Linked DNA regions of Homo sapiens: region 1 is linked to region 2. The links are contacts of gene promoters, found by promoter capture Hi-C in human tissues and cell types (Jung and others, 2019). All regions are on one chromosome and are shown on one strand. Each heading gives the region's core, a stretch centred on a gene start or on the middle of the fragment in contact. The rest is flanking DNA. Distances are from core to core; before and after follow the strand shown.

Region 1 (6,286 bases), core at 2,739-5,238, 300 kb before region 2:
ATCCGCTGTCCATGGGGAGGGCTGCAGGAGTATGTCTGGAGTCTCGAGGCATCTCCCAGCCAGCTCCCATCTCCCTGCTGAGGCAAAGGGTGACAAGGTGGGAGCCATGGCCCTGGACTGGGTGGCCTCTTTTTTTTTCTGATGAGACGGAGTCTCACTCTGTTGCCCAGGCTGGAAAGCTGGAGTGCAGTGGTGTGATCTCAGCTCACTATAACCTCTGCCTCTGGACTGGGTGGTCTCTGAGTTTAACGCCCCATGAATCTAACCTTGACCTTCCTGGGCTTATTTTCCCTTGGCTACTTGACAGTCTCCACAGAAGGCCTCGGTGAGTGGATTCCGAGTCACAGGCTCATCCCCAGGGTGCAGCAGGATGAGGGTCTCCCCGGGGACCCTTTCAAGTGAAAGAGAGAAAGTCACTTTAACAAGAAGGAGCCACTTGAGTGGCAAGATGAGGAGACCTCAGACTGGGCCAAGCTTGATGTCCCCAGGGCGGGCTGTCTGACCTTGGGCAAGTCACTGACTGTCCTTGACAGTGAAGACATTAATGGCAAGGACTAATTATTCATGTCCCACAGACACCTCCCACCCAGGCCTGGTGTAAGGGTCTCGCAGGCGTGATCCAGGAGGGGTTTGCCCTGGGCACTCACCGCTCAGATGGTATTCTGCCACATCCACAGCCATGATGTCTGCTGCAGTGACTGTGACTGGAAGGGAAAAGAGAGTGAGAGGAGAGGGCTGCAGAGAGTCAGCGTCCCGCTCCTAGGTCCTGGCCTCCTGGCACCCACGTGCCTGTCATCCAGAGCTTACACTCAGCTATAAGGGGAGTGCCACCAAAGGGAGGCTTGGCATTTTAAGAAATGATGTTTAAAGCTCTTTTCAAGCATTCTAAGACTCTTCTCAGGATTGCCAGATAAAACACAGGATGCCCAGTGGCATGTGAATTTCAGATTTTGTTTTGTTTTGTTTTGTTTTTTCAGATGGAGTCTCTCTTTGTTGCCCAGGCTAGAGTGCAGTGGCGCGATCTCGGCTCACTGCAGCCTCTGCCCCTGGGTTCAAGTGATCTCCTGCCTCAGCCTCCCAAGTAGCTGGGATGACAGGCATGTGCCACCCCACCCGGCTAATTTTTGTATTTTTTGTAGAGATGCGGTTTCACCATGTTGGCCAGGCTGATATCGAACTCCTGGCCTCAGGTGATCCACCAGCCTTGGTCTCCCAAAGTGCTGAGATTACAGGTGTGAGCCACAGCGCCTGGCCAAATTTCAAATACGTTTTTAATATGTGTGTCCCAAATATTCCACAGGACATATTTACGCCAAAATCTTTTCCATTGTTCATCCAAAACATCAATGCTCCTGGGTGTCCTGTTTTTGTATTTGCCAAATCTGGCAACCCCAGCTCATTTCCATCCTAACAACATCAGGCTGACCAGCGGCGACGCAGTAGGTGACTCATTAGAGCAAGGCCCCCCTGGCTTGAGCCAGAGCCTTCCTTCAAATGCTTCCATTTTGATTGGGAAGGAAAGGCTGCGTGTCTGCAATATTCTATTATCAGTCCTTTCACTGCTTGGCATGGTTTCTTCCCCACCCCATCCTCCACCCCCAGCTTTTAGGAATGACTGAGGCTTAAGTTGTTCTAGAAAGGTCTGGGAGCTCGTACAACCCATTACCTGAACCTAGGTGACTGCTCATTGTTTTATTAGTGTGCTAAGAAGTAAATCTGGCTCACAGATGTGTTCTAAGTGGGTGTATGTGGGAGTCCTGGAAAAAGGAATTTGGGATGGGCTGCACTGATCTCAGGTCAAGGGCACCGAGGGCCAGGATAATGCCCACCCCAATTTCTGGATTCCCTTGTAGTTCAGAGAGGTGGTTACACATGGTAAGCCTGCAGGCCTGGTGCAGGGTGGTAGGGCAAGGGGAAGGGGAGGTAAGAACTGCAGAGTGATGGCCTGGCCCAAGGGCAGCTGCATTTTTGCCCCAGCAGGAATGCCAACCACCGTGGCTTGATCTTCTGGCACTTTAAAGAAAAGCCAGATACCTGAATTTTTTATGTGCCATTTCCTGAGTTTTAAAGGTAGCAACCAATTTGCAAAAAAATGCAAACACCATTCAGACGCAGTATAAAAAGTCCTTGGGGAGTGTGACCCACCAATTCCCAACCCCTCGGAGCATCCTGTAGGTTCCCTTTGGGACTGGGGTCGAATCAGAGGGTAAAGCTAAGGCCCTCCACATTTTCAGGAATTCCGGGGTTCTCCCCAGTCTGTGGCTTTGGAGTCAAGAAGCTTCGGTGCCATGCTCCAGTCAGGGTTATCCAGCACATTTGGGGTGCCATAAGTCCTAGTCTACCCCCTTAAGTCCTGGAGGTGCCCAGGAGCCTCTAGAAGCAGGTCAGATAAGGTGCACAGCCAGCTCCTGGCTTCCAGTTCTCCTGATGCTGCCCCCACTCCCACAAGGAGATGTGCGTTGTCATGGTGATGGAAGGGTGGTGCTAAGCCAGGAAGGGCTTCACCCATCCTGACTAGAGTGGAAGCTCATTCCTGGGCCTGGGCTGGAGATAATGATAGTAATAGAGAACCTTGTCGAGCCCTTCTTACACATCAAGCGCCATTCTAAGCACTTTGCATTTATCTGACCTCATTTAATTTGCCTAACAGCCCCATGAGGTAGGTACTATTATTATCTCTGGTTTGCGGGTGAGAGTCCCAGGGCGTAATTTGCCCCAGGCCACACAGCTAATAAACTGTTCAACCCAGGCCAACTGGCTCCATGCTCCTAACCACTGTGTCTCACTGCAAGTGGGCATATGGTTTCCAAAAAGTTTCCTAAGAATCTGCAGGTCAAATGGGTCACCATGTACCTGCCCAAGGTGGTCCTAGCTCCTGGCGGAAGCTGGTCTGGATACGCTGAAACACATGCTAATGTACACACACGCACCTCCCAGCCTGCTTCTGCCTTGCCGGGAATCAGATAAGCCATCGGCTTTTTCCTGCTTACCTGGCACAAGCTGACTTTGCAAGAGTGGGGCCAAGCTGGGACAGCCAATGCCCGCAGCACGCGAGCAAGGTATGCATGGCAAAGTACACCCCACAGCACAACAGGCGTGGTACGGGACAAAGCCTCAAGCTGCATCTGGCCTCTGGCTGTCGGGGGCCCCATCACCTCCATGGCTGGCCCAGCTCAGACCCCAGACTCCCACGCTGTCTGTTCTTTCCTCTCCCTTTAACACGACATCCTTTCCCAGGGAGCTGAGATTTCAGTGAGGGTGTGAATGACTGCTAGGCACACCCCAGACAGAAGTTCCTTCTTTTTTTTTTTTTTTTTTTTTTTTTTGAGACAGAGCCTCACTGTGTCACCCAGGCTTGAATGCAATGGCGCGATCTCAGCTCACTGCAACCTCTGCCTCCTGGGTTCAAGTGATTCTCCTGCCTCAGCCTCCCAAGTAGCTGGGATTACAGGCATGAGCCACCATGCCCAGCTAGTTTTTGTATTTTCAGTAGAGACGGGGTTTCATCATGTTGGCCAGGATGGTCTTGAACTCCTGACCTCAATGATCCTCCCATCTTGGCCTCCCAAAGTGCTAGGATTACAGGCGTGAGCCACCGCCCCTGGCCTCCAGACATATGTTCCAGCCTGGTGCCCTGTGAAGGCAGAGCTCATTTGCCTGAGTGGAGGGAGAAGAGAACTGGGAGAGAGGTCGAGGCTCCTAGAGGGTGTCATCCTGAGCACAGGGTTTGTAGTCAGCTGCACCCAGCTCTGACTCCCATACCTGCCCCTGGCTAGCTGCAGTGGCCTTGGGTAATTTTCTTAGTCTCTTAGAGCCTCAGTTCCCCACCTGTAAAGCAGATGTGAGGCTGCCAGGAGGGTGGAATGAGAAGGTACGTGTAGTCAGGCTTGGCACATATTGGTTGCTGTGGTTAGCAGCCTGGTGATGGCCCATACAGACCCCCTAACCCCTAGTCTGGGCAGTGTGGGCAGCACTGCCAGCCTACAGATGTGTTTATTTGTCTTACATTTAAGTGAGTTGCCAACATTTTAAAATTGAAAAATTTAGCTGGGTGCAGTGGGTCATGCCTGTAGTCCCAGCTACTGGGGAGGCTGGTGTGGGAGGATCTCTTGAGCCCAGGAGTTCAAAACCAGTCTGGACAACATAGTGAGACTGTGCCTCAAAAAAAAAGTGTGTGTGTGTGCGGGGAGAGTTTCCCATTAAAAATTGATTTAAAAAGGATTTCCAGCTTCCCTTTGAAAATTAGAAGATCTGGCCGGGCGCGGTGGCTCAGGCCTGTAATCCCAGCACTTTGGGAGGCCGAGGCAGGCGGATCACCTGAGTTCGGGAGTTTGAGACCAGCCTGACCCACACGGAGAAACCCCATCTCTGCTAAAAATACAAAATTAGCCGGGCTTGGTGGCACATGCCTGTAATCCCAGCTACTTGGGAAGGCTGAGGCAGAAGAATCGCTTGAACCTAGGAGGTGGAGGTTGCAGTGAGCCAAGATCGCACCACTGCACTCCAGCCTGGGCAACAAGAGCAAAACTCCATCTCAAAAAAAAAGAAAGAAAAGAAAAAAAGAAAGTTAGAAGATATGGGGACAATGGGTTTGCATCCCCCGACTCCAACAGGAGTTGGAGCTAAGTCGGCATTGCCCCTTCCCTGGCTGCTCCCATCCTTCCATTCACTGCTAGAACCTGTTGAGCCCTGGAAGCATCCCTGCTCATAAGCCTGGTAAAGTGGGCTTTGAATGAGCTACTTTTTTTTTTTAATTAATTTATTTTTTTGAGACGGAGTTTCGCTCTTTCACCCAGGCTGGAATGAAGTGGTGTGATCTCACCACGCCCAGCAAAGCTGTGGGAGATTAAGAGAGGTTAAGTGACTTGCCCAAAGCCACACAGCCAGCGGTGGTAGAGCTGGGCCTGGCAGTCATTCCTGTAGCCCAGTCCAGCCCCTCTTCCATTAGCAGTGACAACCCTCATGCCGTCTTCCCCATCACCCGTAAGACCCATGGGGCAAATCCTGTTACTACCCCCTCCTCCACGGAGGAGGAGAGGGAGGCTCAGAGAAGGGCAGTGAATTGGCCCGAGGTCACCCAACCAGTGAGGAGGAAGCTCAGACCAAGCCGCAAGTGCTGCTGTGCAGCCAGTGCCCTTCTCAAGGGCTTTGCTCACTATCCCCGAGACCCCTTGACTCTGTCTCACCTGGGACCACCTCAGTGGGCTCCCGCTGGCAGCCTGGAGGTCTGCCAGGCAGAAGGACTGTGTCTTTGGCTAGAAGAGGATAGCAATGAGGTACAGTGGGACCAGGGCAGCCTGTGACCAGAGCATCCCCGGTGTCCAGACACACAGCAAAGAGCATAACATGGGGGACCAGAGTGGCTCCAGACCCTCACTGAGCTCCCAGACTGCACATCCCTACCTCTGCAGCACCCCTCCCCATCTGACCAATTCGTTCAGTCCCAAATCCCCAGACCCTAAACTGCACAGAGCTTACTCATTGAAAACAGCTCTAGGTTCAAATTCCAGCTCGATCATACCTACCTAGCAATATCTCCTTACTGCTACATGCATGTGGACATAACATGTGCTAAGTGCTTAGCACTGTGCCTGGTTGTAGTAGGTACACAATGTGGACATGATGATTCAGTGGATTAATGGATCCCCCTTTTATAGATGAGGAAGCTGGGGCCCCAGGTCACCTAGCATACAAGTAGCAACACTGGGATTGGTGCCAGGGTGCAATGGATCTGGGCCTGGGCTCTTGGTCACCATGCTGACTCCTGAACAGGCAGGCCTTTTGGGGTGGGGAGTTGGAAGAGCCCCCCACTTCCCCCAGCTTTGCTGGAATCAGACCATGGCAGAGGCCCCTCCTGGGCTTGTCAGAGAATTGGCTTTCCATGAATGTTGTGCCTCGGCGGGGGAGAGGGGCCCTCTGTCCCTGCCTTCTGCTCCACCCCACCTCCTTGCCCAGTGTCCTCACATCATTCTCTGGCTAGCAAGGCAATGGGAAGGGTCGGGAGTTGGGCCCAGGAGAGCCTCATCCTTCAACCTGTGAGCCTCTTCAGGATCTTTAGGTTGAAACCTTTTCAAGTACCCCTCCTCCGCTTTCTGAGATAACCACATCCTGCTGCCATCCCCCAAACAGCCCACAGAAACCGCAGGACAGACTGGCTGGGAGGTGCTGGCTGGCATTTATTGGGCACCTACTGTGTGACTTGCCCTGTGTTATCTCAGCACCGCAGCCCTCTGAGGGGGCTGCTACCCTGCTCCTTGTACTGGAGAGGAAACTGAGGTGCAGTGTG
Region 2 (6,771 bases), core at 1,833-4,332:
GCTAAGAACATGGGTTCAAGGGTCAGATTGGGTTAAAATCCCAGCTCTACCCTTGCCTGGTTTGATGACCCTGAGTAAGGTACTTAATCTCTCAATGTCTCCATTTCCTCATCTGTGAAATGGGGTTAATACTTACCTCTTGGAGTTGTTATAAAGGATTAAATGAAATGTTATGTGTAAAGTATTAGAAATACAGTTCCACGTTAATGTTAGTAACAGCTATTATTATTCCCCACTCTGTCTGGTTAATGCTTCTCATATTTCAGATCTCAGCTCAGGTGATCTGAGGTTATGACTCTGTTCAGTTCTCTCTTAACATCCTGAACTTTTCATTCATAACACTCATTATACTTTGTGGTTATATATCTGATGGGTTATTTTATTAATGTCTGTCAATCCCACCACAGGCTCTTCCAAGAGAAAACAGACAGTATCCATTTTACTCATCATTATATCCCCAGATCCCAGCACAGTGCCTGGTATATAATTAGCCATATAGTTTTTGCATAAATATTTGATTGAGCAGGGGCGAGGAAGTGAAGCCAATGAGTGCAAATGACTCAGGAAGACTGTGAACATAAAGAGCAAGGGGAATGCATGGAGGGAAGTCGGGGCTTCTTGATTATTTTTTAAGCTGGCAAATGCTTGAGCATGTTTAAATGCTGATGGGAAGGAACCAGCTGAGAGACAGCAGTGAGGGCCGTGAGGCTGCAGAAGGGGATGAGACTTAGCATAGGAGCCAGAAGAATCCATCTTAGGTGAAAAGAGGGACACCTCTTCCCTGGTATTGAAACAAGAACTGAGAATTCGGCTATGTATGTATGTTTGGTGGGCAGAGCCAAAACCTTTCCATGAATCTTGGTAATGTAAGCAGCAAATGTGGATTCACTGAGAAGCTCAACAAACTTGGTGGATATCATTCCATTCGCTTTTGCAACTCAAATAAGAAGGAACCAGATATTTTCTTCATCATTGACTGTACTGGTTCACTACAGAGCAAAATAACAAGTTTCCAAAGCAACCCAGTCACAGAGCTGAGATAGGTGATCTCAGTGTTCTCTTTATTCAATGTGCTTCCTCTCCAAATCGGGAAACAGTATGGGAAATAATACGGTAAAATCATAACGGCTGATACTGATTAAGTGCTTACTATGTGCTGCATATAATTCATTTACCTGCAATAATTCATTTGATGTTCCCCACATTATGGTGCCATTTTACATGTAAGGAAACTGAATCCTAGGGAGGTAACTTGCCCAAGGTCACATAGTCAGTGGGTGGCAGAACTATGTTTTAAACCCAAGGAGTCTGACTCCAAAATCAATGCTTTTAACCATTCTGCTATACTCCCTGTCTAGCAGAGAGGAAAGAACATATTAGGATTCAGAAGACCTGGAGTTTCTACCATGAACTAATTCTGTGAACTTGTACATTCACTTAGGTGTCTGAACATCAGTCTGTTCATCAATAGAATAAGAATGAGAATGTTTATCTTACAAGGCTTCTTGAAGGATTATGAAATGCTGAAAATAGGAAATTATAAAAGATATTATTTTGCTAATCATAAGACTTAATACCCTTGACTTCTAATTGGGTCACGATATTATAGGCTGTCATTGAGACCCTTAGTTCCCGTAACCAGTACAGCAGCAGCAGCTTGGTGGTTCCAGTTCCTTTGGCAGGGCAGCTGATTCTCTAATTTTTTTTTTTTTTTTTGGAGATGGAGTCTCGTTCTTGTTGCCCAGGCTGAAGTGCAGTGGCACAATCTCAGCTCACTGCAACCTCTGCCTCCCGGGTTCAAGCGATTCTCCTGCCTCAGCCTCCTGAGTAGCTGGGATTTCATGCCCACCACCACGCCTGGCTAATTTGTGTATTTTTAGTAGAGAAGGGGTTTCACCATGTTGGCCAGGCTGGTCTTGAACTCCTGACCTCGCGATCCACCTGCCTCGGCCTCCCAAAGTGCTGGGATTACAAGGGTGAGCCACTGCGCCTGGCCATGGGCAGCTGATTCTCATCCCATCAGCTTTAATGTCCCTGACCAAGTGTCCCTGATGACCGTCATGCACAGGTTGGTGCCTCCTTCCCCCGAACCAACCAACACATAATCCTACCTCTGGGAAGAGTTGCAGTTTATGCCCTTGTTTCTTTAATGCCATTGCCTGAAAGAGTGGCTATTAAAAATAATAAATAGCCTCAGGCCTGGCACGGCAGCTCACGTCTGTAATCCCAGCACTTTGGGAGGCTGAGGCAGGCAGATCACCTGAGGTCAGGAGTTCAAGAACAGCCTGGCCAACATGGCAAAACTCTGACTCTACTAAAGATACAAAAATTAGTCGGGCATGGTGGCATGCACCTGTAATCCCAGCTACTCGGGAGGCTGAGGCAGGAAAATTGCTTGAACCCGGGAAGAGGAGGTTGCAGTGAGCCGAGATCAAGCCACTGTACTCCAGCCTGGGTGACAGAGCACGACTCCGTCTCAAAATAATAATAATAATAAATAGCCTCAAATGCAGCTAACTGTGAGGTACACACCAGAGAGCCAGTTCCAGTTTCGTGGTAGAAGCACAGATATCAGAGCTAGGAGAGAACTTCAAAGTAATCTTTCAATGGAACTCCCCAACCCTCCTCCCAACCCATTTTATAGACTAGGAAAACCAAGGCGAGGTAGATGACACCACTAGTTAGGGTTGTCAAAACCATATCTGGAAAGTACTTCAATTGCACATATTTGTTTCAGTATGCATACCTTTTCAGAAAGGAGCAAAATCCTAAATTACCCATAAATCTATTATAAAACCTTAAATCCAATAATTCACTCAAAGCCCATTCTTTGAGTGCCCTTACTTGACCATTTCAGGCATTCCCTGGATAGAAACGGGCCCTCATCTTCAGGGGCAGTACATAACCTAACGGCTCTGTACAAAGCTCACCCTGTTACCACTGGCTCATCTCTGAGCTGAGTTCTCTAATCTGGAAGAACAGCACCTACTTCTCAGAGCTGGAGTGGGGGTGGGAGTGTCACATGAGATGATGCGCTTTTAGCACCCACCTGGCACTCTGTGAGTTTGTCATGATTTGGGCATAATTCCTTCCTCTCCTAAGCAGGCAGCAGTTCACCTTGGTTAAGGACCTTGGACCTTAGACCACTCAGACGCTAACAAACCAAGGAGAAACCCAGCCGTGTCAGGCCTAGAAATGTCTGCCCCCACCCCCACCCCCCTCAAGACGGTGACTAGGCCGGAATTCTCCTGGTTGATAAATGAGAGGAGCTGAGAAGCGCTGAGATGCCTGTTTGGAGCATCTGATCTGTAGAAGACGAATCTTCACTGTGCCATGGAGATGTTCTGGGAGGGAGAGCCGGCCCAGCTGCCTGAAGGAGGACGCGAGAGCGAGGGGACGGGTGAGAGGAATGCTTAGCGGAGACGGACTGGAGGTGCCCGGAGAGGAAAGGGGAACGGAGGCTGGATCTCGGGAAACCTCGTCGGCAGTGTCATTAGAGGAAGGATCGCGTGTCTCGGGGATACGGATTTTGGAGGAAAAGCAGAATAGGGACAAAGGTGAGGTGTCCGAACCGGGGAGATCAAGACCTGTAAGCTGTGGTGGGGGACCCAGGGACCAGCGAGGACGGGAAGGCGGGGTTTTGGGGGGACCCCGCACGGAAGGTGGCTGGGGGTCGGCAGCCGGCCTCGGAGCTGCTGCCGCGTTCGCCCCGAGGCAGGTCAACTACCCCGGGCGGGGAGCGGCGGGGAGCACCGAGAGGGGCCTCGGTTGCCATGGCGCTGGGCGGGGAAGGGGCGACTCGGGCCCCGCCCAGAGCCCCGCGGGGCCGCCGGCTCCAGATGGTCCCGGGCCTCCCGCGGGAGCCGGCGGCCTGCGGCAGGGGGAGGCTATTGTCCTCCTTCCGCGGCGCCGCAGTCCCGCCGCTCGCGCCCGCGCGCCGCCGCCACGCGCCCCGCCGCCGCCCGCCCCGCGCGCCCCCCGCGCCGCCTGCGCCCCGTGACAGCGCCCGCCCGCCGCCCGCCGTGCGCCCGGCCGCTGCCTGCAACCGCCCGTCGCGGCCGGGCTGCAGGCGCGGCAACTACCGGTGCGCCCCCGCCCGCCGCGCCCCCGCCCGCCCGGCCGCGGCTCCGCGCCGAGGTAGGTGCCGGCGCCCCGCCCGCTTTGTCCCGGCCCGCGGGGCGGCGCGCTTTGTCCGGCCGCGTGCGGTCGGCGGGGTCGGGGTCGGGGTCGGGGTCGGGTCCCGGCGGCCGGGGTGAGCCGGGGCGGGAGCAGGCGGGGACGGGACGGAGAGGGTCCCGTGCCAGCCACACAGGTACCGGGATGAGGGCGGTGGGGGCCAAGGCCGAGGGGGGGGGACTCGGGCCTCTCTGGAGCCGGGAGAAGAGTCTGGAACAGTTAGGGCTGACGGACACGTTCGCGGCGAGGCTGGGAGCGGGTCTGACAGCGCCGGCCCCTCGCGTCGCCGGGGCTGCGGGGCGGACGGGCCGGCGCCGGGCCAGGTGCTGGGGGCGCGCTCGGCCGCCTCTGCCCGGCGGACTGCGGGAGCCGGGCTCCCTCCTCCCCGGAGCCGCGTGGGCTCCTCCTCGCCTCTTTGGCAGCTGGCTCCACGCGCTCCCTTCTGTTCCCCCACAGTGTGTGGGAGAGGGGCACGCGGTTGGCTGTGGTGGCCGGAACTGGCCCGGGGAGAAAGCAGACGCTTCGGGCGGCGGGGAAGCGGCCGCGTGCGGCGTTTCTGTGGCCAGGAAGCTGATAGGGCTGTGCGGTCCGCCCCGCACGGAACTACCCAGCAAGGCCTGCTCGCGGGGGTGTTCCGGCTCCGGTGCCACAGTCGTGATTTACCTTCCACTCGCTTGGAACTTTACCCCATTGACCCCAGGACATTGCATGCTTGTGTGAGGTGCAGGTTTGCCCCGGTCTTAACCTGCTACATGTCGTCTGCCCTCCCCCTCTCGGAGCAGCCACAGTTCCAACGCTGGAGAGCCCGGGGGTTTCAGGTATGGGCAGAGGTAGCAACAAACCAGTTTTCCTTGAAGGTGAAGAGGGGCAGAGTGAGTTCCAAATATGTGTCTTAGCTTGAGGTGTGGGGCAACCTCTTGGCTTATTCAGAAAGGCAAAGGATTGGCCGAGGAGAAGATAGGATGGAGTTTACATTCTTCCCTTAGAGAAATTGATGTGACCCCGGGTTGGGGAAGGGAGATAGCAAGGGAGTGAAGAATCTGAATATTTGAATAAATCTGCCATAACTGGAGGATTCTAGAAGAGAAAATAAAATTTCAGTCCCCCTCTTCAGCCCAGTTCCTAACTTCCTCCGAGGGAATTGATCAGGAACACAGTCTGAGAGGTGGGTCGGGGTTTTGCTGTTCCTTCCTTCTGCCCTGGGCCCATCTTTCTCTTGCCTTCCTGGAGGCCCTGAGCTGATTTGTGACTTCTTTTTCGTTTTATCTCTCTGCCAGTCCACCCATTTATACTTAGAAGCAAATAAGATTTGAACTTTGCCAAAGTCCCCATTTCTTCTAATCTATTATTCATCTCACTGTCATTTGTTCAACTCTGCCTTCCCGTGACTTCTCTAGCTCTGCCGTTCTCCTCCCGCATATCTGCGGTTCGCTGTGCTGTTTCTTTCATTACCTGTGGTACCTACTCCATCTTCATCTTCCTCTCCCATCGCCTGAGCTCCTGAGGGGAAGTGATATTTGAGTTTAGTGTGGGGTAGGGCCTGAGCAGACCTAGAAGCTAACCCTGGGTCACACTCACCCCTGAAACTTTGTGTCTTCTCAACACTCATGGCTCCTCTAACCAATTCCAGCTGCTTCTCATCTTTGGACAAGGGTGGCCCTCAAAGTGTGGTCCCCAGACCATTAGCTTCAGTGTCACCCGGGAACAGGTTAGAAATGCACATTCCCAGGTACCACCCCAGAAGTACTGAATCGTAAACTGGGGGATGGGGGGGTGACCTGTGATTTAACAGTCCTCCAGGTTGTTGTGATTCATGGAAGTTTGAGAATCCCCAGACCTGAGCTGTTGAGCTCAACCCTGAAAGTATTCCAGCCCAGGAGCAGGTCTTCTCCAATCCCGTGTTCATTCTTTCCTTGAGCTTCTCTCTAGTCCTAAGAAAGACATTAATTCCATGGCCAAAAAAAATGAATTATAGTCAAGTCATTCAATATCTCTTTATTGAATATCTGTTGTACTGAGTCTGGAAAAACACCAAAACGAGTAAGACAGCCCTTGTCCTCAATGAGTTAAATGTGGAGCGGGCAGAGAGACACGTAAACAACTAACCGTAATGCGATGTGATAAGTACAATACTAGCTGCATGCCGAAGTGCCCTGGAAGCACAGAGGAGGGAATGATCAACTCTGAGGGAGGGAAATAATTCATCAGGAGCAGGATGTGGTGAGAGGAAGAATTAGGATACAAGGCAGCCTGTAGCCCAGGGTATAGGATTTCTAGCTTAACATGTCAGCTGAAAGAGAGGAAAACTGCCCTGGAGGATCGGCACGGTGAGCCTAGTCTGCCTCCAGCAGCGCCTGGAGTACATTCCAGCAGGACCCCAAGCCTGCAGCCGGCGGGGGTTGGCATTCTTCTAGCACTAACAGTGTAAGCTACTTGGGCCTGGCCTTGAGGTCAATTGCTAAGAATAAGGTATGATGAGACTGTAATCTGGATTAGCTACTGCACCACCCTATTGCCAGACTTCAGGAATCTGTGGAAGAGAGGACGATTGAGGATTCTCCAGCTTCCTCATGACAGGGGGTCATGAAGCTGGGG

Evidence for each region. Contacts are between HindIII fragments. The study calls those that stand out against the background at their distance.
Region 1: a contact is called between a fragment that was not itself captured here and the fragment with the promoter of SPTBN2 in region 2, in 2 of the 25 tissues and cell types used here (heart left ventricle and mesenchymal stem cells).

What each region holds. Positions count from the first base shown.
Region 1 is chr11:67,024,540-67,030,825 of GRCh38, reverse strand. It overlaps SYT12 (synaptotagmin 12), which reads right to left. Exons shown (of 8, transcript NM_177963.4): 2 at 648-704. The coding sequence starts at 681. Among named protein-coding and RNA genes, the nearest start is that of SYT12, 4.5 kb to the right of the region's middle. RefSeq lists enhancers at 2,980-3,049, 6,260-6,286. The HindIII fragment of the contact is 5,223 bases long and covers 1,377-6,286 here.
Region 2 is chr11:66,725,527-66,732,297 of GRCh38, reverse strand. It overlaps SPTBN2 (spectrin beta, non-erythrocytic 2), which reads left to right and starts at 3,082. Exons shown (of 38, transcript NM_006946.4): 1 at 3,082-3,557. The HindIII fragment of the contact is 42,487 bases long and covers 1-6,771 here.